4 separate regions of the Homo sapiens genome follow, and all the other regions are linked to region 4. Evidence: promoter capture Hi-C in 16 types of primary human blood cells and fetal thymus (Javierre and others, 2016). All regions are on one chromosome and are shown on one strand. The core of a region is centred on a gene start or on the middle of the fragment in contact, and the rest is flanking DNA. Distances in the headings are between cores, read along the strand shown. Region 1 holds the start of ATP1A4 (ATPase Na+/K+ transporting subunit alpha 4). Region 2 overlaps KCNJ9 (potassium inwardly rectifying channel subfamily J member 9). Region 3 holds the start of KCNJ10 (potassium inwardly rectifying channel subfamily J member 10). Region 4 holds the start of PEX19 (peroxisomal biogenesis factor 19).

The links. The method cuts DNA at HindIII sites, captures the fragments that hold promoters and counts their contacts. A CHiCAGO score of 5 or more calls a contact.
Region 1: a contact is called between the fragment with the promoter of ATP1A4 here and the fragment with the promoter of PEX19 in region 4, in 1 of 17 cell types (megakaryocytes). The highest score is 5.0, in megakaryocytes.
Region 2: a fragment that was not itself captured here is called in contact with the fragment with the promoter of PEX19 in region 4 in 12 of 17 cell types (naive CD4 T cells, naive CD8 T cells, endothelial precursors and 9 more); the score reaches 9.1 in naive CD4 T cells.
Region 3: a contact is called between the fragment with the promoter of KCNJ10 here and the fragment with the promoter of PEX19 in region 4, in 2 of 17 cell types (fetal thymus and erythroblasts). The highest score is 5.2, in fetal thymus.

What each region holds. Positions count from the first base shown.
Region 1 is chr1:160,149,876-160,155,563 of GRCh38, forward strand. ATP1A4 (ATPase Na+/K+ transporting subunit alpha 4) reads left to right here and starts at 1,728. Exons shown (of 22, transcript NM_144699.4): 1 at 1,728-2,312; 2 at 3,290-3,349; 3 at 5,170-5,373. The coding sequence starts at 2,166. The HindIII fragment of the contact is 4,407 bases long and covers 1-4,126 here.
Region 2 is chr1:160,086,490-160,093,033 of GRCh38, forward strand. It overlaps KCNJ9 (potassium inwardly rectifying channel subfamily J member 9), which reads left to right. Exons shown (of 3, transcript NM_004983.3): 3 at 997-4,074. The coding sequence ends at 1,328. IGSF8 (immunoglobulin superfamily member 8) reads right to left here. Exons shown (of 7, transcript NM_052868.6): 4 at 6,435-6,544; 5 at 5,793-6,206; 6 at 5,319-5,449; 7 at 4,854-5,119. The coding sequence ends at 5,334. Among named protein-coding and RNA genes, the nearest start is that of KCNJ9, 8.2 kb to the left of the region's middle. The HindIII fragment of the contact is 8,135 bases long and covers 735-6,544 here.
Region 3 is chr1:160,068,742-160,074,798 of GRCh38, forward strand. It overlaps KCNJ10 (potassium inwardly rectifying channel subfamily J member 10), which reads right to left and starts at 1,419. Exons shown (of 2, transcript NM_002241.5): 1 at 1,281-1,419. RefSeq lists enhancers at 801-970, 3,148-3,507, a cis regulatory region at 886 and a silencer at 1,381-1,610. The HindIII fragment of the contact is 4,127 bases long and covers 1-3,076 here.
Region 4 is chr1:160,283,748-160,289,590 of GRCh38, forward strand. It overlaps PEX19 (peroxisomal biogenesis factor 19), which reads right to left and starts at 1,386. Exons shown (of 8, transcript NM_002857.4): 1 at 1,308-1,386. The coding sequence starts at 1,377. LOC107985219 (a long non-coding RNA gene) reads left to right here and starts at 618. Exons shown (of 3, transcript XR_001738265.2): 1 at 618-1,108; 2 at 2,570-2,614. COPA (coat protein complex I subunit alpha) reads right to left here. Exons shown (of 33, transcript NM_004371.4): 33 at 4,847-5,843. The HindIII fragment of the contact is 4,290 bases long and covers 1-1,520 here.

The DNA of each region.
Region 1 (5,688 bases), core at 478-2,977, 130 kb before region 4:
TATTTCTGAATATTCAAGGAGGATTGCATCAGCACCAAGATGAATGTTTCCAGATACAGTCATATTTTTAAAAAGCATGCCCAACCAAAATGCAATTAAATAAATATCAGGCCAGGCTTGGTGTCTCACTTATGTAATCCCAACATTTTAGGAGGCCAAGGCCAAGGATTGCTTGAGCCCAGGAGTTTGAGACCAGCCTGGGCAACACAGGGGCACCCCGTCTTTACTAAAATAAAATAAAAAAAATTAGCCGGGCATGGTGGCACATGCCTGTGGTCCCAGCTACTTGGGAGGCTGAGGTGGGAGGATCACTTGGACCTGGGAGGTTGAGGCTGGAGTAAGCCATAATCGCACCATTACACTCCAGCCTGGGCAACAAAGTGAGATCCTGTCTCAAAAAGTAAATAAACAAATATCAAACAACAGAATGGGAAAATCTATGTGACGTGCATAATTGAAAAATATATATAATGGTTGACAGAAAAGTATAGATGCTTCAGATTATTCTTGGAAGGAGGTAGAATCCTATGGACATGCAAAACATATATACAGTTAATATAGTCAAAGCACTTACTGAGACACCAGAGAAGGTCAATGGAAGAGGTAAGTACATCATTTTAAAATGAGAAAATGCAACGCTATCACATGGAAAAGCATATTTTTACCCTCACTGAGAAGAGCTGCATATTAATCCACAAATAAAACTACTACTGAATTCAAGCTACCTATTGAGCACATACTATATATGTCACATAGTGCTTTTTGTAGAGCACCTCACTTAAGGTAGAAGGTATCCTCTTTTAAAAATAAGAAAAGAGAGGTACAGAGGTTAGGTAACTTGCTCAAAGCCACACAGCTGACAAGTGGAGGAGTTGGGATTGAAATCCAGGACTGGTTCCAGAGCCCAAGATCTGATCTATTCTGCTAGCTGATCTCCTAAAATTAAAAGATCAAACCCAATGTTAGTGGAAAAGTGTGCCTTGCTAAAAAACACACACAGAGTACCTGCTTTTTTTTTTTTTTTGAGATGGAGTCTCAAAAACAGACGGGAGAATATTAGTCCAAACTGCAACTGCACCATTTTGTAAGCTCCCTGCTATGGTTTTTTGTTTGTTTGTTTGTTTGTTTGTTTGTTTGTTTGTTTGTCTGAGATGGAGTCACTCTGTCACCGAGGCTGGAGTGCAGTGATGCAATCTCAATTCACTGCAACCTCTGCCTTCTGGATTCAGATGTTTCTCCTGCCTCAGCCTCCCGAGCAGCTGGGATTACAGGTGCCCACCACCACACCTGGCTAAATTTTGTATTTTTAGTAGAGATGGGGTTTCACCATACTGGCCACGAAGGTCTCGATCTCAGCCTCCCAAAGTGCTGGGATTACAGGCATGAGCCACCGCGCCCGGCCGAATACCCGCTTTATTTTTGAGTCATCTATTTGGCATACCTCTAAGCCTCCAAAGTCTGCAGGACCACACAAGAACTTTGTTCTAGTTCTGCCCTCAGACTGAAACTCTTTCTGTAGCAGGGCCTGCTCCAATCGTCCTCAAACCCAAAGACTGAGACTTCTAGGTTCTTGGTTAAAACCTTCATGAGGCCTTTGCGACAGCAGACCTGGACCATCGCCAAGGCAAGACTTCTGGATTCTTGGTTAGAACTTTCAGGAGGCCTTTGTGATGCCAGACCTGGGTCATTGCCCCAGCAACCACAGGGCCTGGGACTGGGGGGTTCCCAGATCCTTGAAGCTCACTCCGCCTCCTCACTCTCACTGCATTTCCCACCTTCCTGTGGGCCTTGCGGCATCTTCATCACTGAGGCACCTGGTTACGCTTCACCTCTTGTTTCCTGCCCTCACTGCATTCCCTCACCTCTACCTTTTTATCCTTCCACCCTAGGCTTCTCTCCTCCCTCTTCCCTCACTCCTGACTCTTCCTCTTCCCAGCGGACGGCTGGAGGACCGCTCAGTCTCTCCTCTCTCACTTCCCTTCCTCTCTCTCACCTTCACCACCCAACACCTCCCTCCCTGCCTCTTTCTTTCTGCTCCCTCATTCTCTCCCCACCACTCTCTTCTCGTGGCCCCCTTGCCCGCGCGCCCTCTTCCCTTCCCCTTGCCTCACTCTCTCAGCTTTCTTCCCACAGTTGAGCTCGGGCAGCTCTTTCTGGGGATAGCTATGGGGCTTTGGGGGAAGAAAGGGACAGTGGCTCCCCATGACCAGAGTCCAAGACGAAGACCTAAAAAAGGGCTTATCAAGAAAAAAATGGTGAAGAGGGAAAAACAGAAGCGCAATATGGAGGAACTGAAGAAGGAAGTGGTCATGGTGAGGCCACCCAAAGTGGGCGCTGACAGCTGCCCTCTGAAAACACTCCTCCACCTATCTTTAACATCTTACCTTGAGAATGAAACACACAGGCCAGAGCCACATCTCTTCTCTGTTAGGCTTTGGAGGGAAGGAGAGGGTTAAAAAAAAAAAAAAAGATACACACAGAGAGACAGGGCAGCTCAACAGCAAGCACAGGTATATTGCAGACACCTGTGGAAGTGGGGGATCAGCTTAATTCCACAGTCCACTGCCACTTACAGGCTGGGTACTTATAGGGATGGATGGGAGGAGTCTGGGCTGTATGGCCTGCTGCCTGGCAGGATATCGATAAGATGTTCTCATGATGAGGTGATTTTTGGCCCTTGTTTCCACAGAATATAATCATGGTATTCCCTGGACCTTTGCCCAGCAGGATGTGATAGGGATGTTTCTTTAGTGGGGTCTTTGTCTTTAATTGGGCCTTCGTCTGCCCTGTGGTCAGGTGGTTAGGCAGGCTGTTTCTCTGGCCCGAACCCCCGTGAAATGTTTCACTTTGACCAAGGCCTGTAAAATAGTGGGGAGCTAGGCCGGGCGTGGTGGCTCACACCTGTAATCCCAGCACTTTGGGAGGCTGAGGCAGGCAGATCACCTGAGGTCAGGAGTTTGAGACAAGCCTGGCCAACATGGTGAAACCCCGCCTCTAAAAATACAAAAATTAGCTGGTCCTGGTGATGGGCCCCTGTAATCCCAGCTGCTTGGGAGGCTGAGGCAGGAGAAACACCTGTTGGGAGGCAGAGGTTGCAGTGAGTCGAAATCGCACCACTGTACACCAGCCTGGGCAACAGAGTGACTCCATCTCAAAAAAAGAATTGCAGGGAGCTTACAAAATGGAGCAGTCTCAGTTTGGACTAACATTCTCCAGTCTGTTTCTCCCCCTCTCCCTGGAAATGACCTGGGCCACCCCCTGTCCCTCAATGCCTCTACTGTCCCCTCAGGATGATCACAAATTAACCTTGGAAGAGCTGAGCACCAAGTACTCCGTGGACCTGACAAAGGTGAGTAAGAAGCTCCCTGAGGAGGCAGAGAGTCTCCAACTCTGACTGTGAGGCTGCCAGGACAAAAGCTGAACTAGGAATCCAGCCCCCTAACTTCAAGTCCAACGTTCCCACCCCTCACCCTCTGCCTGGCCACGTTCCATGGACACTACCTGGAAAAAGCTGCAAATGGTAACTACCCTCAAAGAGAGTGTGGGACTAGATAAGAGAATAAGAATGCTTTAGGGCAGTGCTGGTCAAACGTCTTGTCCTTAGGTCTCCTTTACACTCTTAGAATTTATCTAGGACCGCAAAGAACTTGTGCTTATGTGGCTTAAGTCTGTCTATATTTACCATATTAGAAATTAAAATTGAGAGTTTTAAAATGTATTTCTCAATTCATTTAAAAATAACAAAAATAAAGTTATCATATATTCATATATGTTTTGACAAATAACTGTATTTTTCAAAACAAAAAAATTAGCAGCATCTTACATTTTTGCAAACCTCTTCAATGTCTTGCTTTTTAATAGAAGATAGCTGGATTCTCAAATATTTTCTGGATAAAATCTGTTGTGATGTTATGCCAGTTGGCCTTCAGAAAATTCCACTATATACTCTTAAGAAAATGAGAGTAAAAAAAGGCAAACAATGATTTAGTATTACTATGAAAATTGACCTTGTGGACCCCCTGAAAGGGTTTTGGGGCCCCTCGGGTGTTTCAGGCAGAGGTTGGGGAGTGGCTGGTGGTGATTGGCAGGTTCTACTATCATTTTCATTAACAGGAAAAAGCACATAAGCTTGTGCACAAGAGTGGAATGAGAATCTATGCATTCATGTTTTTTGTTAGTATTCTTTTCTATTTATGTTTTTTAAAAATTTATGGGCCAGGTGCCGTGGCTCACACCTGTAATCCAAGGCAGGCAGATCACTTGAGGTCAGTAGTTGGAGACCAGCCTGGCCAACATGGTGAAACCCCATCTGTATTAAAAATACAAAAATTATCCTGGCATAGTGGCACACATCTGCAATCTCAGCTACTTGGGAGGCTGAGGCAGGAGAATCACTTGAATGCAGGAGAATCACTTGAACCTGGGAGATGGAGGTTGCAGTAAGCCGAGATCATGCCACTGCACTCCAGCCTAGGTGACAGAGCAAGACTCTGTCTCAAAAAAAAAAATGGATATGTAGATGTACATATTTATGGTATACATGTATTATTCTGATATAAGCATACAATGTGTAATGATCAAATCAGGGTATTTAGGATACCCATAACCTCAAACATTTATCATTTCTTTGCATGGGAACATTCCAAATCCACTCCTCTAATTATTTTGATATCCATAATAAATTATTAACTATAGTTGCCCTATTGTGCTACCAAACACTAGATCTTATTCCCTCTAAGTTGGAGAGTCAAAGCGTGGTGTTAATATGTTATCAACATTAAGTATTATATTTCATCATGACATTGGCCCTGCACATTATAATTATCTGTATGTATTTATCTCCCCACTGGAGCACCTTAAGGGTAGGGACCATTCTTATTCATGTTGGTATCCTCAGCACCTAGGACCCGAGATAGGTTCTCAAGTTCAAAAAGGTTTGTGAATCAATCCATAAACAAAAACCTTCCTATGTAAGCATGCTAAATGACATCCCTCCTCTAATGCAAATTTTGAAACCTCACCTTATCCAGGAAGAACTTCCAGACTGACCTTCTGAAAGCGTCTTTAGTCTCTAGACCCATTCTGGGGCTCCAAATGTCAGGTTCCCTTTTGCTATGGCTGTTCCTCTTTTCACAGCTCTCTATCCAACCCTATTTCTTCTCTGCACAGGGCCATAGCCACCAAAGGGCAAAGGAAATCCTGACTCGAGGTGGACCCAATACTGTTACCCCACCCCCCACCACTCCAGAATGGGTCAAATTCTGTAAGCAACTGTTCGGAGGCTTCTCCCTCCTACTATGGACTGGGGCCATTCTCTGCTTTGTGGCCTACAGCATCCAGATATATTTCAATGAGGAGCCTACCAAAGACAACGTGAGTCTCTTCAGCTACTACTAGCCAGCCCTATCTCTGCTTAGCCCCAGACACTCTTTTGCTCAGCAGCCTAGCACTCCTGAAGTCCTCTGGCCCAAATCCCTAATTACATTATTACATTAATGTAATAATGTAATAAATGTACATTAATTATAAATGTAATTGATTGTAATTAATTACAATGTAATTGATTAATTACATTGTAATGAATGTAATTAATTATAAAATGTAATTAAATGTACATTAATGTAATAAATGTACATTACATAATAATGTAATAAATGTACATTAATGTAATAAACCAAAATCCCTAAT
Region 2 (6,544 bases), core at 3,552-6,051, 190 kb before region 4:
TTCAAAACGCTTTTGAAAAGCAAGAATAATGAGCCAAAACCCAGCAAGATGACATTTAAAATGAATAAATATAAAATTCTACATTTAGGCTTTAAAAAAATCACTTATGTAAGCACAGCATGGAAGAGCACTGGTGAAAAAAGAACTGGGAGTTTTAGTTGGCTACAGTCTTGATGTCGTAGCAATGTGATGCAGCCTCCAAAATGATTATGTAATGTTATCCTGGGCCCTATTAGTGAAAGCATCATGGCCAGAAGAGAGAGATGGTGCGCGCTCTCTTATGCACGGAGCAGGCCACAGTTGGAAAATTTACTATACTCAAAATGCTTAAAGGGCCCTCCTTGGCCATTCTGGCTTGTAATCAAAAAAGTAGAGTTCTGGAAAACCAGGTCAAATGAGGAATCGTGGAGGAAGCCAGGGATGTTAAGTCAAGAGAGAAAACATGAGGGAATCTGAGACTCCTGTTTTCAGATACTCAGAGGACTGTGAAGTGGGAGGGGAATGAAGCCAAGAGTTGGAAATCCCAGGGTACAGGTTTTAGCTCTGTATAAAGAACAACCCAACTATTAGAGCTATCATACAAAGGAGTGGGCCCTTTATGAAGTGGTGAGCTATCAATCCTGGGAGGTAATCAAGTATAAGCTAGATGCCCATTGTTAGAAATGCTCCTTTGGGGAGCCCTGTATGGAGTGAGAAGTTGGACTAGAGGATCCCTAAGGTTAGTTTCAAGGTTAAGCTTTTTTTGGTTGGCATCACCAAATGACAGGAGGGGAAAAAAGAGCTGGACATTAAGAGGAGTTGGGGCAAATGGAGAAGACACGAGGGAGCTGGGTAAGAACAGGAGCTAGGGAGGGGGGGAAATGGACTGGACCAAAGGGAGGTGGGAGCCCTTAGGAAGGAATAGAAGGGAGGGTGCTGGGAGTAGGGTTGTGGAATGAGAAGAGGAGAGGGAAGCCTGGAGCTGAGATTCCCCCTGACCGGTGCCCCTCCTCCCAGGAATGACATGCCAAGCTCGGAGCTCCTACCTGGTAGACGAGGTGCTGTGGGGCCACCGCTTCACGTCAGTGCTGACTCTGGAGGACGGCTTCTACGAAGTGGACTATGCCAGCTTTCACGAGACTTTTGAGGTGCCCACACCTTCGTGCAGTGCTCGAGAGCTGGCAGAGGCTGCCGCCCGCCTTGATGCCCATCTCTACTGGTCCATCCCCAGCCGGCTGGATGAGAAGGTGGAGGAGGAGGGGGCGGGGGAGGGGGCGGGTGGGGAAGCTGGGGCTGACAAGGAGCAGAATGGCTGCCTGCCACCCCCAGAGAGTGAGTCCAAGGTGTGACCAGCTTCCTCCAGACCCCTGTGGCAGACCGGGGGCCAGACACAGATACATGGGGAACTGCATATCGGAGGTGGTGGAGGAGGAGGAGGAGGAGGAAGGCAAAGCCCCTGGAAATGTGCTAAAGTTGGAAAGTCCCCGTCCCCCAGAACCTCAAGTCTAGAAACCAGTATGGAAGGGAGGGGTCCTGATTTCAGGGAAATGGAGGGTGGGGCCGGGTGAAAATGCCAGTCTGTGTTTGACCTTCACATTTGTTCATGAGTGGATGGATGGACAGAATGATGGACTTTTGGGGGTTGGATGGGAAGATGGTAGCAGATAAAGACAGCTGACAGATACATAGATGGACCAGTAGACAACTGGTCCACTCAGGGCTGCCACTAACCTGTAGAACACCCCTGTGCAAATTTTAAAAAGGAACCCTTTTCCTCCAGACAGATACAGCCCCAAACCAGGGTGCATGGCTTGGGGAGCAGAGTATAGGATGGATTGCAGTCCCCAGTCACCTCTTCTGCCAGCCTCCCCACATATGGCACAACTGTCTAATGACACGGTAGGCCAAGCTGAAGTGAAGGAGAAAGGAGCCGGACCAAGATGGGCACATGAGGAGGGTGCCCTCCTAGCTCCACCCTCACCAGGATGAAGGCGTGCAAGGGGCTCAGCAAGGTGTGAATGACCTTAGTCCGCAAGTTCAGGGAAGCAGGCAGAGCGGGGAGGTGCCTGAGCTGGGGCCTGGAGAGGGGCCTGGGAAAGGAAAACCAGGGATAGCTATTTTCTTACAGTGGAGTGAGATCTTACAGGTATCAGGCACAGGCAGGAAGAGAGAGAGAGAGGTTCTGGGGAGGAAGGGCCAGGAGAGAGATCTAGAAAGTGGGTTCACTAGAGCTGGGAAACAGGGAGCCCCTAGGAAAGCAGTGTGTCCTTGGGGCACAGTCATTCACATCACTGATTGGGTGCCATGTGGAGTGGACATTCAAAAACCTGGTTCCTGTCCTCAAAATAAGGGGCACCTGGGAAAACAGAGGAATCTACCTGTGGTGACTGAACGAGGGATAATTCAAACTGACAACCTGTGCAGTCCCGTGGAGGGTAGGGGAGTGTGGGTGATCAGAAGGCTGGGGCCAGTGTAAGGCATAGGGAATATGTAAGTCAGGAGTTAGAAATCTCCAGTGTGCGTTGGAATCACCTGGAGGGCTTGGTAAAACACAGATTTTTGGGCTCCACTCCAAGGGTTTCTGACCCAAGAGGTGGGGACCAAAACCATGCATTCCTAAGAAGTCCCCAGGTCATGCTGCTGTTGCTGGACTGAGGACCACACTTTGAGAACCTGTGCTCTAAGTGAATACTTGGAAGTCGTTTCAGGACATGGGGCATAGAAACTGAGGAGTAGCTGAGAGGAAGATGAAGAGAAGCTGAGAAGAAGCTGAGGATCCTCACAGGAGCAGACAGAGAAATGTGAAGGGTGGGGTTTTATGTGTGGGAAAGGGACCCGAAGCCCAGGCTGAAGAGTTTAACTTTGGGCCCAGAAACTCAACCATCAATGGAAACAGGGCAGTGACAAGTGGAGGGGGTGTCTGGAAGCTGAGCAGGCCCGACAGAGAGATGAAGCCATCAGAAGGACTTGAGGGGGCTCCTGGGGAGGTCGGGGGGAGGTGGAGCAGGAAGAGTTTTAGGGGCAAAGGACAGAACCCCTTGTAGGACTGGAGGCAAGATTGAATGTGGGAGAAAATCGGAGAGAAGCGATAGGAGTTAGAACATCTGGATGTGTCTGCAGCCTGCTGTCAGCCCAATTGGGCCAGGGGGTCCCAAAGACGCATATTCTCACCCCACCTCCACCTGCTTCCTGATCACATCCCAGTCACCAGCGGCAGCTTCCTGGATAGTGAGGGAGAACAACTGCAAGTTGAGAGAGGCAGAGGGGTGGAAGGGACCTGAAGCTGGCCTGGAGAAAAGCATAGGCCCAGGAGAGCCTGCCCTGGGACAGCGCCTGTCTCCCACACAGCAGCACTGGCCCAGCAAGGACCTCCTCCCTTGGCCCTGGCCACATCCCACTCCTGCCCTTTCATAAGCCCCCTGGGGAAAGCACTCCAGTCTTCTCTGTTCCAGGCTGGGCAGATAGGGTCCTATGGGGCACAGCCAGGGTCCTATGGGCATAGCCAGGGCCCTATGGGTCCTCTGGAAGCAAGAAAGGGGGCCATGGAAGCAGCCCAGACAGCTGGGGTTCACTCAGAGAGGACCCAAGTCCCAGTCCCTTCCTTTCAGTCAAAACACGGATATCTTTGCCTCAGGTCACAGGGCCACTGGGGCCCTGTCATCAAAGATGAGATTCCTGAAGCCTGGCATTGACTGGTCCCCTAAGAACAGATGTTGGGATGGAGAATGGGGATTCATTTGGGTTTCAGTAAAACAGGGGGGTCTGGACAAGAGCGGGTGGGCTACTTGGTATCCACACACACGCACTCACACAGGAGCCAACCCATTGCAGCTGAACAAGCAGAGAAACTCAGTCTGGAAAGGCCCCTCCTGCCTGCTGAAGTCACTGAGACCCTGCCACACCTCTCCTCGCCACTGTCACCACTCAGGGCACCACTGTACAGTGCAACAAGTCAGGAGACCTAGGTCCTACTCCTGACACTTGCTAATTAGCTCTATGACTCTGGGCAAATCGCATATCTGGGCCTCAGTTTCCTCATCTGTAAAAATGACAGCAAACTCGTAATGCTCAATAAATGTTTAAATAACAACTGAAGGAGGCCTGCCAGATGCCTCTTAAGGTGCCGTGCAGGTAAGAATTTTAGGATCAGAGAATCCTTAGGCAAGAAAATTCATGAAACTCCTGGGGCACTGGAGGAGGGGTGAAGCTGAAGGGTGGGAGGGAGGAGACCCCAGGGTAGGTACAGGCAGGTGAAGCGGGTATATGCAGGTGTAGTGGGTATATGCGGGTAGAGGGTATATGCAGGTACAGCGAGTACATGTGGGTGCAATGGCTCTGTGGACACACAGGCCCTCCCCTGACTGCCTGTTGTCCCAGCCTGAGTATCAGTTGTGTTCTGAGGCTTCTATTCTGCTGCTATGGGTCAGAAGGAACAACAATTTCAGCCCCAGGGCCTAGTGGGAGGAGTCAGGTCCAAGACTAGCCTGACCAGGAGAATGAGACGTGGGAAGAGTTGGGGAAAGTCTGGGAAGCTCAGAAAAGGCACTGCCCCTGGAGGCCCATGCCCTTTAACATGGGAGAAGCTGGTGCGGGGGTGACCACAGGCAGCTGGAACCTACCCTCCTTTTCTATGCTTCCCTCCCCAAGTAGGAGTCCAATCAGGAGTTGTCTCAGCCCCGACAGTTCAGGCTGCAGATGGAACCCAGGTGTCCCCTCCTGGGGTGGGTGGCATGGCCCATGGAGGCCAGATGGTGTTTGTGGTGGGAAGAGAGGCCTGGGTCATCCAGAATAGGTTGTCAATCCCCAACCACCTCCCTACTATGCACCCTGAGCGTTTTACAGTCTCATGGTAGGGAAGACACAGCCAAGCCTGCTTTTTATAAAACAAGTTTATTCACATTTTAGAAAAACTAATTCCAGGACAGGAAATGGCCTCCCTATAGGATCCCTAAGAGATCAAGAACAGAAGGCCAGAGGGAGGGGCTTGGGAGGGAAGGAGTGGGGAAGGGGAGGCACGTCTCCCATTCTGGGTAGTGGGAGGTCAAATAAATTAAAGGAAGAGTGGACAGAGGGAGAGGGTGTCCAGGCAACCAGAGGAGGGCTTGGAGCTGGGCCGGAAGACAGTCGACACCTGCAAGACCTGAAAAGGGTGCCCGGTGTGGGCTAAGGACAGAGAGCCCTGAGTGGGGCTCCCTCGCGGCCTCCACCCCTTAACAGGGCCCTGTGGATCTGAGCTGCCTACTCCTCCTCCAGGTGGGGCCTGGGAGGGAGCAGCTTGGTTCAGGACTTGGGGGTGGGAAGCCCAATGAAAACAAGGTTGGGGGGTTCTTTTCCCTCACCTGGGGAGTAAGGGATCACCGTTTTCGAAGCCTCTTCATGAAGCAGCAAGTGATGGTACCAAGGACAGTGGCACCAGTGACTAGGGCCACCCCTGTACCCACCAGCAGAGGCACAAATAGGGTGTCCAGGGCTGGGGGAGAGAGGATGACTGTTCAGAGAGGATGCCATCATCCTCCACCCATACACTTGCCTCTGCGCTTTCCCCATCAAGTTCTCTGAACCCACCTTCTCCATTCACAGACACCCCCATCCCTGCCCACAGCCTGCCCCCTCAGCATGCAAGTCAGCATCAACCACAGAGGACCCCGTGCAGGTGGGCACTGCAGGGCTGGAAGTTGGATTTTTTGAGACTTCATGTGACATAATGTGGAGGAGAGAGATAGTAGCAGGAGGGTCAGAAGATGGGAAGGGAAGGCCAGTGGCAGAGGCCAGGAGGAAGGCAGAGTGAGGAGGGTGGAGGGGGTGTCACTCACCATGCATGTAGGGGTAGACTGTAACAGGCCCTGAGCGGGCACTGCCCGCCTGGTACCAGCTGTAGTCGGCATGCTGCACCCAGGCGCTGGGGGCACAGTGGTACACGCCTTCATCCTCGGGCCCCAAGCTGTGTAGTCTCAGCCGATGGCTTCGGGGCCCCACCAGCTCTACGCTGACAGGGCCTCCTCCAGGCCGGACTCCCAGCTCTGCCACACCATCCTGGCCTACGCCACCCACCAGCTGGGCAGGGACAGAGCTGAGCTCTCCGTCCTCTGGTCGCTCCACCCACCAGCTGGCGGCCAGCCGCAGTCCTGGGGGGCCACCCCGCACAGAGATGTTGCACAGCAGGGAGGCAGTCTCCCCGCGGTACACTGTGCCTCCTGCTAGCCATGCCACAGCCTCCAGCACCACACCTGCAGAACAAAGGACATGGGGTCAGAGGGTGCAGGGCCAGGGAGCATGGGGTTAGGGCTGCCGCCAAGCACCGCCCCAGGAAACTCAGGGTATTCCCACAATCTTGGTAGAAGAGGAGCGTGAGGCTGTGGCCTGCAAACAGCTGACGGAGAGGGAGGGGTCATGGAAACAGAAGGAAAAGGGGTTGACAATCCTCGAACCCCGTCCAGGGCCCAGCCCCCTCTCACCTTCCTCCCGCACATGTACAGGGAGAGGCCGGGAACGGGCACTGGCTGCTTCACGAAGCCGGGTCCCAGACCCTCGAACATAGGCTTTGGCGAGGCAGCGGTAGGTGCCC
Region 3 (6,057 bases), core at 169-2,668, 210 kb before region 4:
ATCATGCCAGGAATATGTTCAAAAATCCTTGGAGATTAGGGAGAGAGTTTCAGGATGAAACTAAATTGAACTCACTGGTGGCTGCCCACCCCTCCTGGGGCTAATTTCATGACAACCACTCCAGGCCCTCCTCAGCACCCTTAAACAAGGCCATCTCTCACATGGGGGCCCTAAATCTCCTGTCATTATCTCCCTCCCACCCAGGCAGCCTAAAGCAGTCCCAGTGGGGAGAAAAAAAATTCAAACACCACAGCAAGAGCAGACTGGCCAGACATCTTTAGTCAGAATTTGTATTGGTAAGCAACAGAAGCAGGCTTTAAGCACTGGCCTCTTTGGGGTCCAAATCTGCACCAGCTTCTTCCCCATCTGCCTCACCCTGCCTGGGGCACTCACTGGAATTAAACTTCAAGACACCAGAACCCACCCTCACTTTTTCCCAGTGTTGTCCTTCTACCCATTCCTGGGTTCAGCTCTCCTCCCCCAAATCAGGAAGTTCCATCCTTCATCTGTTCCCTAACACAGGTGCCCTGGGTTAGTTCTGATGAGAGGAGGAATGGAATGGGAAGGGGCGTCTCCATCTGGAGGGTGAGTTTATAGAACCCAATCTGCCCTTCTCACTCTAGCAGAAGTGGCCCTGCTCCTTTCCTTCTGGAAATCCCAGTGCGAAACAGCTGGGGTGAGGGTGAGGGGCCATGAGGAGGGATGTCTTAAAATGGGAGCCACTCAGAATAGAAGGAAGAGATTGGGTGGGCAGGGGTCTGGAGCACACCAGGCTTTGGTGGCTCCCCGGTTTAAGCTGCCAGTATCTGTTTTTCTCCCCATGTGGGAACTAGCGATCATGGGTGTCACTATGTGATTGTCACTGTATGGGGAGTGGGGGAGGGGCTGGGGATGGGAGTAACCTGTCCATATGGGGAGGAGGGCGCACTGTCTGTTGTGCCTGTGTATGGGGTGCCTGGTTATGTGTGGTTGTCACTGTATTAACTAGAGGAGCAGGGATGCAACTGCTGGTCTGCCCAGTGGGAGGGGGCATCGGGAAAGCCCCTTCCTTAGATGAAAGGGCTGAGGTGACCAGCCTGGCTAGTTTCCTCGTGGGGAGCCCTTCCCAGGAGGCTCCATTTGGGACTGCCCAAGGCGGGAGGCAGGGGAACAAGACGGTGGTACCGCTGAGGCCAGGCAGGGTAGGGACTGAGGATCTGGGACCCCGATGTCTCTGGAGAGTTAGGGGGACAGGACCCGGCCGGGGCGGCAGAACTCCTTCATCAGGGCCAGGGTCTTACCTTGGGTCCGAGGTGGAGTGGCCCCTTGGATGGGCCGCGGGGCAGCGGGACAGATGGACGGACGGGGCGGGCAGGAGTTAGGAGCAGAGCTGTGCGACGGGCCGGGCCAGGACTCTTAAACCCGGAGCTGGGATCAGATAAGGGCTTGTCCGGGGGCCGGGGCCGGGGTCGGGCCGGCCGGGGGCAGAGCTGGGCCGGGCCGGGCCGCCCCCTCCCTCCGCAGCGCCGGAGCCAAACTTTGTGTGAATGGAGGGGCCCGGAGGGGGGCCGGGCAGGCGGGGGCGGGGGGCTCCGAACAGACCAATGGGAGAGTGGAGCGCCAGGCTCGAGCCGCCGAGATTGGAGGGTCTTGGGCAGGGGGCGGGGCGTGCGGGGCAAGGAAGCGGAGACCCAGACAGCTGCAGGCGCAGAGAGAAATATCCAAAGACAGAGACCCAGACAGACCCGGGGAGAAAGAGAGATGAAGAGACGATATGCGAAACGATAGGAGCTGAGCTGGCAGGGTGACAGGGGAAGGGAGAAGGAAGAAAAGGGAGGCGGTCCTGTCAGCGATGGGTTACGAGAGCTGGAGCCGGGGGGCGGGACTGGGACCGAGTTAACGAAGTGGAAATGAATTCAGGACCGGCCCAGTGGCCCTGCAGGCAGCGCCGAAGGCGGCGCCTGGAAGTGAGATTGGGGCGGAGTAGGCCTGGGCTCCCTGAGCCACAGGACTGTATCTTTGGGCACAATTCCCGTGTTGTTCACCGTCTCCTAAGTCCCCGGTGCGGTGCTGGGTGAGAGACGCGCAGCACACGGTGCCCACCTGCAGCGGCTTTCTCTGTAAGGAAAGATAAGGCCGGAACCCTCAGCGAAGTGCGGGAGGTACTGAAGGCTGTAAAAGGGAGAGGTCATTCTACTCAGAGGGCTCCTAGCAGATGTGGGAGGAAAGAGGTAACATCTGATTAGGGTCCCAAAGGAAGCAGAAGATTCAGGTGCTGAGAGATGGTCCCCAGGACTCTGTTGCATTTAAGGCAGAGGGAACAACGTAGCAGAGTCCTGGGGAGACGTGAAAATACAAGTTCACTTGGGAAACAGCATCAAACTGTCCCATTTACTAGATTAGAGTGCAGGGTGATGGTTCTCAACCCTTTCATCACCAAAGATTTCTTTAATTTTCTGAATCTATGTGTTGAGAGGTTTTAATTCACCCCCACCCCCAGCATTTATTTAAAAAGAATATAATTATTTCCTCATTTCTGATCATCATAAACATTTAACTGCTAATCAATAACCAGTGTTACCATATTGAATTGCTATAAATTCAGGTAAAAAAAGGAAAGAAACTAGGAATGTAGCTTAGTTTAACCACTAAAAGCCATAAGATAAGTAAATGTCCATTCAAATAGCCTCATTGGAGAAGCTGGAAGGACGGGACTAAAGGTTAGGCACCATAGGCAGTGTTTGTGTTAAGGGGAACATCCGGAAGAAACACAGAGTTGTGCTGATTTGTGGTCAGGCCAGAGTTTCTGTAGGCTACGGAGAGCAATTGAAGGTTCTTGGGAAGGATGGAGTAGGAGAAAGCTATGGCATTTTAGGAAAATTAATCGGGAGGTGACAAAATAGTTTGAACCAAGTGGATATAGTAGGCAAGTAGACGATAGAAAATAATTGCAATAATATAAGCATGAAGAGATGACAGCCCAAATCAGCGTGGCAATGGTGAAAAGTGGAACACAGAAAATGAATTGGAGTACAGAAAAATCAAAAGAAAATGAAAAAAGTTTGAAGCCAACTTGACATGTTGAGCAAAAGAGGGAAGCTTCAGAGATCATACTAGAGTCTCAAGTCAGGTGATCAGAACTGCGAGGTCATTCACGGGCATAGGGGAGCCTGGGGGGGATCACACCTGGTGAGGAGACTGAGGTGGGGGAAGAGGAAGTGATGAGTTCAGAGCTGGAAGCTGTGGAGAGGGGTCAGAACCAGAGAGAGAAAGGAGGTCATTGCTGCCAGGGCAGTGTGAGTTGAAGCTATGAGAACAGGGTAGATCCCAACAAAGACTGCACAGAGAAATGAGAGCCTGGCACAGAGAGTGAGGAACACCTATGTTTAGGGGATGGGAAGAAGAAGGACCCCCAAAGAGTGAAAGAGAATCCACCAGACAGGCAGGAAGGAGACAAAGAAAGTGAGATGTCATGGAGCTAAGGAAGGAGAGACTGTTAAGGAGGAGGTTCTAACAGTGCCAACAAGTACAGAGAGAAGAGGCATTGGGTTTGGCAGTGACAAAGTCTCTAGTGACATTTGAGAGCAATTTCAGAAGAGTGAGCAAGGTGGGAACCAGATTACAAGTTACCACTAGAAAGTGAGAAACTGTCAGCAAGTATAGGTTACACTTTTGAGAACTCTACTCATAGAGAGGAGAGAAATAGAAACCAGACAATGTACTAGAAACAGGCCAGGCCAGGTGGCTCATGCCTGTAATCCCAGCACTTTGGGAGGCCAAGGTGGGTGGATCACCTGAGGTCAGGAGTTTGAGACCAGCCTGGCCAACATGGCAAAAACCCATCTCTACTAAAAATACAAAAATTAGCCGGGCCTGGTGGCACGCGCCTGTAATCCCAGCTACTTGGGAGACTGAGGCATGTGAATCGCTTGAACCTGGGAGGCAGAGGTTGCAGTGAGCCGAGATCACGCCACTGCACTCCAGCCTGGGGGACAGAGCTAGACTCTGTCTCCAAAAACAAAACAAAACAAAACACAAAATAAAAAGAAAAAGAAACAGTCTTCCAGTTTTTCTTCTTCACACTCCGAATGCCCTCTCTTCCTAAGTCAATATGGATGAGGGGCTGTGGTGAGGTGGTCTGAGGGCCAGCCTGCAAGACTGGTATAAGACCTTTAAGTTTCAAAAAATAGGACATCCAAAAGATCCTTAAGGGGGCCACAGTCTTGACATTCACAGACAGAGAGGACTTAGGCAGGGGTGTCCAATTTTTTGGTTTCCCTGGGCCACATTGGAAGAAGAAGAATTGTCTTGGGCCACACATAAAATACACTAACACTAACAGTAGCTGATGAGCTTTAAAAAAAAAAAATCACAAAAAAAACCCTCATGATGTTTTAAGAAAGTTTACAAATTTGTGTTGGGCCTCATTCAAAGCTGTCCTGGGCTGCATGCAGCCCACAGGCGGTGGGTTGGACAAGCTTAGCTTGGAGGCTCTGGTGGAACTCCAAAATAAACATGAAGAACACCACAGAAGAGAAAGCAAAGGGACTGTAATGATTTATGGATCATTAACAGACATTTATTGTGCACTTATTATTTTTCCAAAAATGTTATCCATCCATTTAGCTTCAACTACCACCCATGTGTCAATATGTCCAGCCCACCCGGATATCCATTTCAAACTCAACATATTTAAAGTCGAACATGTCACCTTGCTCACAAGAGTGCTCCTCTCCATTTATTCTCTACCATGGTAGATACACTATCATCACCCAACCAGAAACATGGCAGCCATCCTAGATTCTTCAATCTTCCTCACCTCATCTCCCTTATTGAATCAATGCATCTGTATTCTAAATAGCCTCAATATTGTCCCCTTCCTCTCTATTCCACTATCATTGCTGTAGTCTAGGACACCATTACCTCTCACCAGGTAATAATAGTTTGGATCTTTGATCCTGCTCAAATTTCATGCTGGATTTTAATGCCAATGCTGGACATGGGCCTGGTGGGAGGTGTTTTGATCATGGGGGCAGGTCCCTCAGCGGCTTGGTGCTATCTTCATGATAGTGAGTTCTCGTGAGATCTGGGTGTTTAAAAGTATATGGCAACATCCCCCATCATCAACTCTCTCTTGCTCCTGCTTTTGCCATGTGATGTGCCTGCTCCTGCTTTGCCTTCCACCACAAGTAAAAGCTTCCTGAGGTCTCCTGAGAAGCTGAGCAGATGTCAGCACCATGCTTCCTGTAAATCCTGCAGAACTGTGTGCCAATTAAACCTTTTTTCTTTATAAATTACCCACTCTCTGGGTTTTTTTTTTTTTAATTTTTAATCTTTTTTTTTTTTTTGAGACAGGGTTTCACTCTGTCCCCTAGGCTGGAGTGCAGTGGTGTGATCACAGCTCACTGCAACCCTGAACTCCTGTGCTGAAGTAGTCTTCCTGCCTCAACCTCAAACGTAGCTGGAACTACAGGTGTTCACCATTACACCCAGCTATTTTTTTTTTTTTTTAACTTTCAGTAGAGACGAAGAATCGCTATGTAGATCAGGATGGTCTTGAACTTGTGAGCTCAAGCAGTCCTCCCACCTCAGCCTCCCAAAATGCTGGATTACAGGCTTGAGCCACCATGGCCTATCTCAGGTATTTCATTATAGCAATGCAAGAATGGCCTAATACACCAGGGCTACTGCAGCAGCCTTCTAACTACTCTCCCTGCCTCCAGTCTTCCTCCACTCTAATAATTCTTTGGATTATGAATTTCTTTATTTGAAAGTAATTAAGCACCAGTAAAGTACATCTCTCTGAAACACACATCTGACCGTACCACTTCCAAGTTTTAAAACCTTCAGTAACTGCCAACTATCTATAAGTAAAGTCCGAGTTCCTTTCCCTGGAAGAGAAGGCCTATTATAACCTGGACCTGGTGCCATTCCAGCCTTATCTTCTTCCACTGCCCCTATACACCCAAAGCTACAGCTACTTCTTTTAACACTCAAGGTTCAGCCTTATGTTCTCTTTCTGTGTCTTGCCCCTTGAGCCTTTGTCATTTACATAGCTCCAACGATTGTCCCTGAGTG
Region 4 (5,843 bases), core at 136-2,635:
CTTTCCTCAATTTTCCTCCTTGAGTCCCCCACCTCCCCAGACCACCCTCAATGAGCCTCCTACTTCCTTCTGGATTACCTAATTTATTGTGAGCAAAGGCAAAGAAATCCCTTAAGGTGGAACAAATGTCCATCTCAGAGCTGGGAGGAGAGGATTAAAAAGTTCTGCAGAGACATCTCCATCTATAGTGTCTCCCTTGCCACACCCTAACGATTCCCTAGAAATCCCATACAAATACCCAACAGTAGTAGAGAACACAGATGTCCTCATCCCTCTGAACTCACTCTGGAGCTCTAAAAGGAATAACTTGGTGAGAAAGCACAGGACATCCCACCCAGCTTCCTGTTGGTACTGGTACCAGCACAGACTGAGGGACTACATACCAGACTCCATGGTACGGCATTAAACTATCTTCTCTTATTCTCCAGTTTAGTGCTCCCCAACAACCTTCTAGAGCTCCCTTTGGCCTGATCTCTGCAGATAACCGTACACTAATTTACACAGTCACTTGGCACTCCTCAGGGTTTCTGTTCATTTTTCTGCCTGCCCACATCTCCGTGATTGAGCAAGCGATTACAAATTCACCTCTGCCCTGAAAAGCCTGTGTCCTCACCACCATTCTGTTCGCCAGGCCTAGGGAGAGAGCACTGGCCCTACTCTGGGCAGGAAGTCAACAGGGGAGTGGAGAGTAATGCTAAGAAAACATCCCCCGTCTTTCAGGAGGGTGAACTGCTTTCCCCTGAAATCGCCACATCCTCAGTTTCTCAAAATAAGGGAAAGGAGTCCGCTTGAGCTACTGACAAGATGAAAGAACTGTTAAGGGGCCTAACGAGAGAAAGAGAAAAGGACTAGGAGGAGAAAAGTGTCTTTCGTGTTAAGGAAGACAGGACGAGGCACACAAGGACCGGCCACGAGCTTGCTAGGAGTTAATGTAAGCAATCAGTGAGTGCGTAGTTCGCTACCCAGCAAGAACCAAATGCTGCTGCTGCTGCTACTGCTGCTGAAGTCGAACTTTAAGAACTCAGTAACCTAAAGAGGAGTTTGAAGAGGTATCATGAAACGCCGTCCTGCGGAAACATCCACCATCCGGACCACTGAGGGACCCCAGGTGAGCTCCCCAGCTCCAGTCGCCGGGGTGGGGCAGGATGACCCAGAGATTTTTGGGGGGCTCGGGGGTCAGACTCTCCGCCCCCATTTAACCTTTGGAGAGCCTCTCCTGCCCGTCCCTAATATCTCAGGTTCACTTAACCCCCAGAATGGGTCCTCACACGTGCCCTCTTCGGGCCTTTCCCACTATGGGCTCTTACTTTCCAGAAGCTCCTCCAATTCCCTGTCCGCTTCGGCCCCGACACTACAGCCTTCCTCAGCGGCGGCCATCTTGCTACCTCCGACTTGCCGTAGGAGGCGGGACCTCCTCGGTGCCGACACGCCCTCCACCCCTTCGCTCCCGCCCTCTTCTGCCTCGGGTAACCAATGGTATTGTTGACCAGTGCGGAACCGCCATTTTTAAAGGGCCAGGAAGCTTTGAGTGTTTGTGTTTTGGGTATTTTTCCCTTTTCTCCTGTGAAACAGAATTAGGGATAAGATAGGGTTATTTTCTGTCTGGTTTTAGAGGCCCGGACTCCTTTCTTTCAACTTCCCAAATTACCTGGCGAAGCTCTTTCATTATTTTTTCCTGAGCTGTGAGTAGGCCAGATTGAGACAAACTGCCTACAAATAACCAGAATCTAAACATATATAATTGATATGACAATTATGGCACATAACATACTACTTTCTCTCACTTCATTTTTTTTTTTTTATTTTTTTTTGAGAAGGAATCTTGCTCTGTCGCCTACGCTGGAATGCAGTGGCGCCATCTCGGCTCACTGCAGCCTTGGCCTCCCGGGTTCAAGCGATTCTTCCTGCCTCAGCCTCCCGTGTAGCTGGGATGACAGGCGCGCGACACCACGTCCGACTAATTTTTGTAGAGACGGGGTTTTAACATGTTGGCCAGGCTGGTTGGCCAGGCTGGTCTCGAACTCCGGACCTCAGCTGATCCGCCCACCTCGGCCTCCCGAAGTGCTGGGATTACAGGCGTGAGCCACTGCGCCCGGCTTCACTTCATTGTTTCCCTCAAATATTATCTTTTCTGAAACGCTTTCCTTGGCCATTCCCGTTCCTTTTCTTCCTAACACTGAACAGTATCTGACATACTATCTACCGTACTTTTTTATTCTCCGCTCCCCACCCTGCAGAATTTAAACACCATGAACGCAAAGATTTTCGTCTGTTGTCTTCACTGCTGTAAAGCCCAACTCCCAGGCTAGGGTTTAAAACTTAGTAGGCATTCATTGGCCACTCTTTGCTCTCGCAGTCCCTAATCAGGCACATCTGTCTGCCCAATCTAGTGGCATCTCTCATTTCCTATTATCTATTAGAACTGTTTGATTAAAGGACACAGGGCCGGCCAGGAACTTAGAACTCCATGTTATTAAGAGAGCCTCTGGTACCTTGGACTGAGCAGGGCAATTCGAATGCAGTAGTAATAGACTTACTTTCCCTGAACAATCTCCTTTTCTCCACACAGAACCCAACCTCCAACTGAGTGAACACGGGGAATGCTCAGATAGAGGTAACTCTAGACGTCCCTTTCCTCCTTTGGAATTGTTCTATTCAGATGTCAGAATGTAGCAACTGTTTCACATACAAATCTGTTTTCGCACTTAGAGAGCACCTATTATTAAGGTCTTGTTCTGGGCACAGTGAGGACAGAGAGATAAATCAGGACCACCCCCTGCTGTAAGGTAGCTAAGTGGGGGTGAGCCGGAGGTATGATGAGATATACACACAGTATGATACAAGGTAAGAATTTTAAATGAAAAAAAATCCTGTGTTAAGTCACCTCATCACTTTCATTCTTAGCTTCCTAAACACACATTTGAGTACTGCATCAAGCACCAGATCAAGCACTTACTATGTCCTTCACAGATAGGGCACAGACTTGTAAAATCATATCTGCAAAACCTGTTTTCTTCCAACCACAAGTAGTGTGTTTTGGGATCAAAATATTATGAACTGTGAGTTAGAAAGCCTAAATTCCAGCCCCAATTCTGCCACTAATCACTTTTGAAGTCCTTTACAATTCTAAACTTCTGTAATCAAATCCTTTCCTGATAAACCTGTTTTCCAACACCTGCAACATAATTTATTCCAGACTTTCTCATTCAAACTGCTTACACGTGTATCTCCAATATGGCTATAGTTGTAACAAGCACGTCAAAAAAAGAAAACTTGTCTATCAACAGGCATCTCTATTGGTTTTATTTTTTGAGACAGAGTTTCACTGTTGCCCAGGCTGGAGTGCAGTGGTGCAATTTTGGCTCACTGCAGCCTCCACCTCCCGGGTTCAAGTGATTCTCCTGTCTCAGCCACCTGAGTAGCTGGGTCTGCAGGCTCGCGCCACCATGCCCAACTAATTTTTGTATTTTTAGTAGAGACAGTGTTTCACCATATTGGCCAGGCTGGTCTTTAACTCCTGACCTCAAGTGATATGCCCACCTTGGCCTCCCAAAGTACTGGGATTATAGATGTGAGCCACTACACTTGGTCAATTGGCTTTAAACTAATGTAATATAAGCATGTTAATTAAAAGATAATAGATGATAATTAAAATGGAGTCAAAAACAAGCATGATTCTTTCTTTGCATTATTTCTTAAACTTCTTTCTGCTTTTCTATTTTTACTCCTAATATTCCTAACATCTCATCTCAGTATTTACTGACCTACTGACTGCTCCTTCTGCCCTTCTAATGTATAGCGAATACTGTTGAATAACAGTATTTTATAACGCTTTCATATCACTCTGTTCCTTAAGGATTTAATGGTTCTCCACAGTTTATCGAACAAATTCTAATTCTTGCCTGGGAGTCACAATTATTTCACATCTTGTATTTTTAGTAGAGACAGGGTTTCACCATGTTAGCCAGGATGGTCTCGATCTCCTGACCTCGTGTTCCGCCTGCCTTGGCCTCCCAAAGTGCTGGGATTACAGGCGTGAGCCACCACGCCCGGCCTTTTTTTTTTTTTAAGACAAAGTCTTGCTCTTGTCCCCTAGGCTGGAGTGCAATGGTGTGATCTCAGTTCACTGCAACCTCCGCCTCCCGGGTTCAAGCAATTCTCCTGCCTCAGCCTCCTGAGTAGCTGGGATTACAGGTGCCTGCCACCCTACCCAGCTAATTTTTGTATTTTTCGTAGAAACAGGGTTTCACCGTGTTGGCCAGGCTGTTCTCGAACTCCTGACCTCAGGTGATCTGCCTGCCTTGGCCTCCCAAAGTGGTGGGATTACAGGCGTGAGCCACCACTCCCGGCTAATATGTACATTTTTTTTTTTTTTGAGACGAAGTCTCGCTCTTGTACCCCAGGGTGGAGTGCAATGGCACAATCTCATTAGTAGTATGTACTCTGTTGAGAAGGCAGCCTTAGTTTAGGGATGCTGTTTAAAAAAGCAACTCTTAAGATAAAGCTAAAAAATACAACGTATAGTATGAAGAGAAGTAAAAAACAAAGTGAAGCTCCCTAATATATTGATACGAGAAAATACCAAAAATGTTAAATGAAAAAACAAAGGTACAAAATTGTTAAATAGTGTGGTTTCATTTGTGTATAAAAGGAGATAGAGAATGGCATAGTGATATCAGCATGTGCATGTATATGTGTGTGTGTGTATATATATATATATATAAAATTTCTGGAAGGATGTAAGAAAGCTGGTAACAGTGGTTACCTGTTTAGGGGAAGGTGATAGGAACTGGGTGGCTGATGAAAGGGTGGAAAGATTTGTCACAGAATAGCTTTTTATATTTACTGATTTTTCAACTATATGCATTTATTATTTATTGAAAACATGAATTTAACACGCAAAAAAGTACTTATTTTAATCGAAGGCACAGTAATGTCACTCTACCCAATTATTCTTAGCATATGACAAGCAAAATATTGTATTGTTAATGTAATCATTGTATCATTGTAATATATATAAAGTACTATTCTTTTATCTGTATATTACATGTAAAATATCTAGAACAGTGACAGTCACATGGCAGGTGCTCAATAAATATTGCTATAATTAGCAAAAGATAAAAGGCTGCAATCAAAAACAGAATAAGGGAGCTACTTGCTTTCTATCATTTTCACAGCAGTTTAGGTCCTCATATATACCCTATGAAAAACATGTGCTTCTTTTTTTCTTTCTTTTTTTTTGAGATGGAGTCTCACTCTGTCGCCCAGGCTGGAGTGCGGTGGCGCGATCTCAGCTTACTGCAACCTCCGCCTCCCGGGTTCAAGCAATCCTCTGCCTCAGCCTCCAGAGTAGCTGGGATTACAGGCACCCACCACCATGCCCGGCTAGCTTTTTTTTTTTTTTTCCAATAGTGGATGTTTATTTTGTAATTAAAAATTATTACTGGAAGGAAGATATGTACTTTGGTGGGGTGCCTGCATGGGTGAACAAGAACATGAGAGTGTCCAAGAAATAAATGGCCAAGTCAAGAAGCTCTCATAGAGATTTATTTAGTGTGAGAAATATGAGAACAATAGTTGTAAAGAACAAATCAATAACCCGCAGTGTGCATTTTGGAAAACCAAATAACTTCTTCAAATTTCTGAGTACACAGAGGGTACCTGCCTTGAAATTTAAATGTCTAAGGAAAATGGGAGATGATTAAGAGTTGGTGTGGCCTAGTCACACCAAAATGTATTTATTACATCCTGCTCCTTTCTAGTTGACAGGAAAGAAAGCTGCTGTGGGGAAAGGAGGGATAAATACTGAAGGGATTTACTAAACAAATGTCCATCACAGAGTT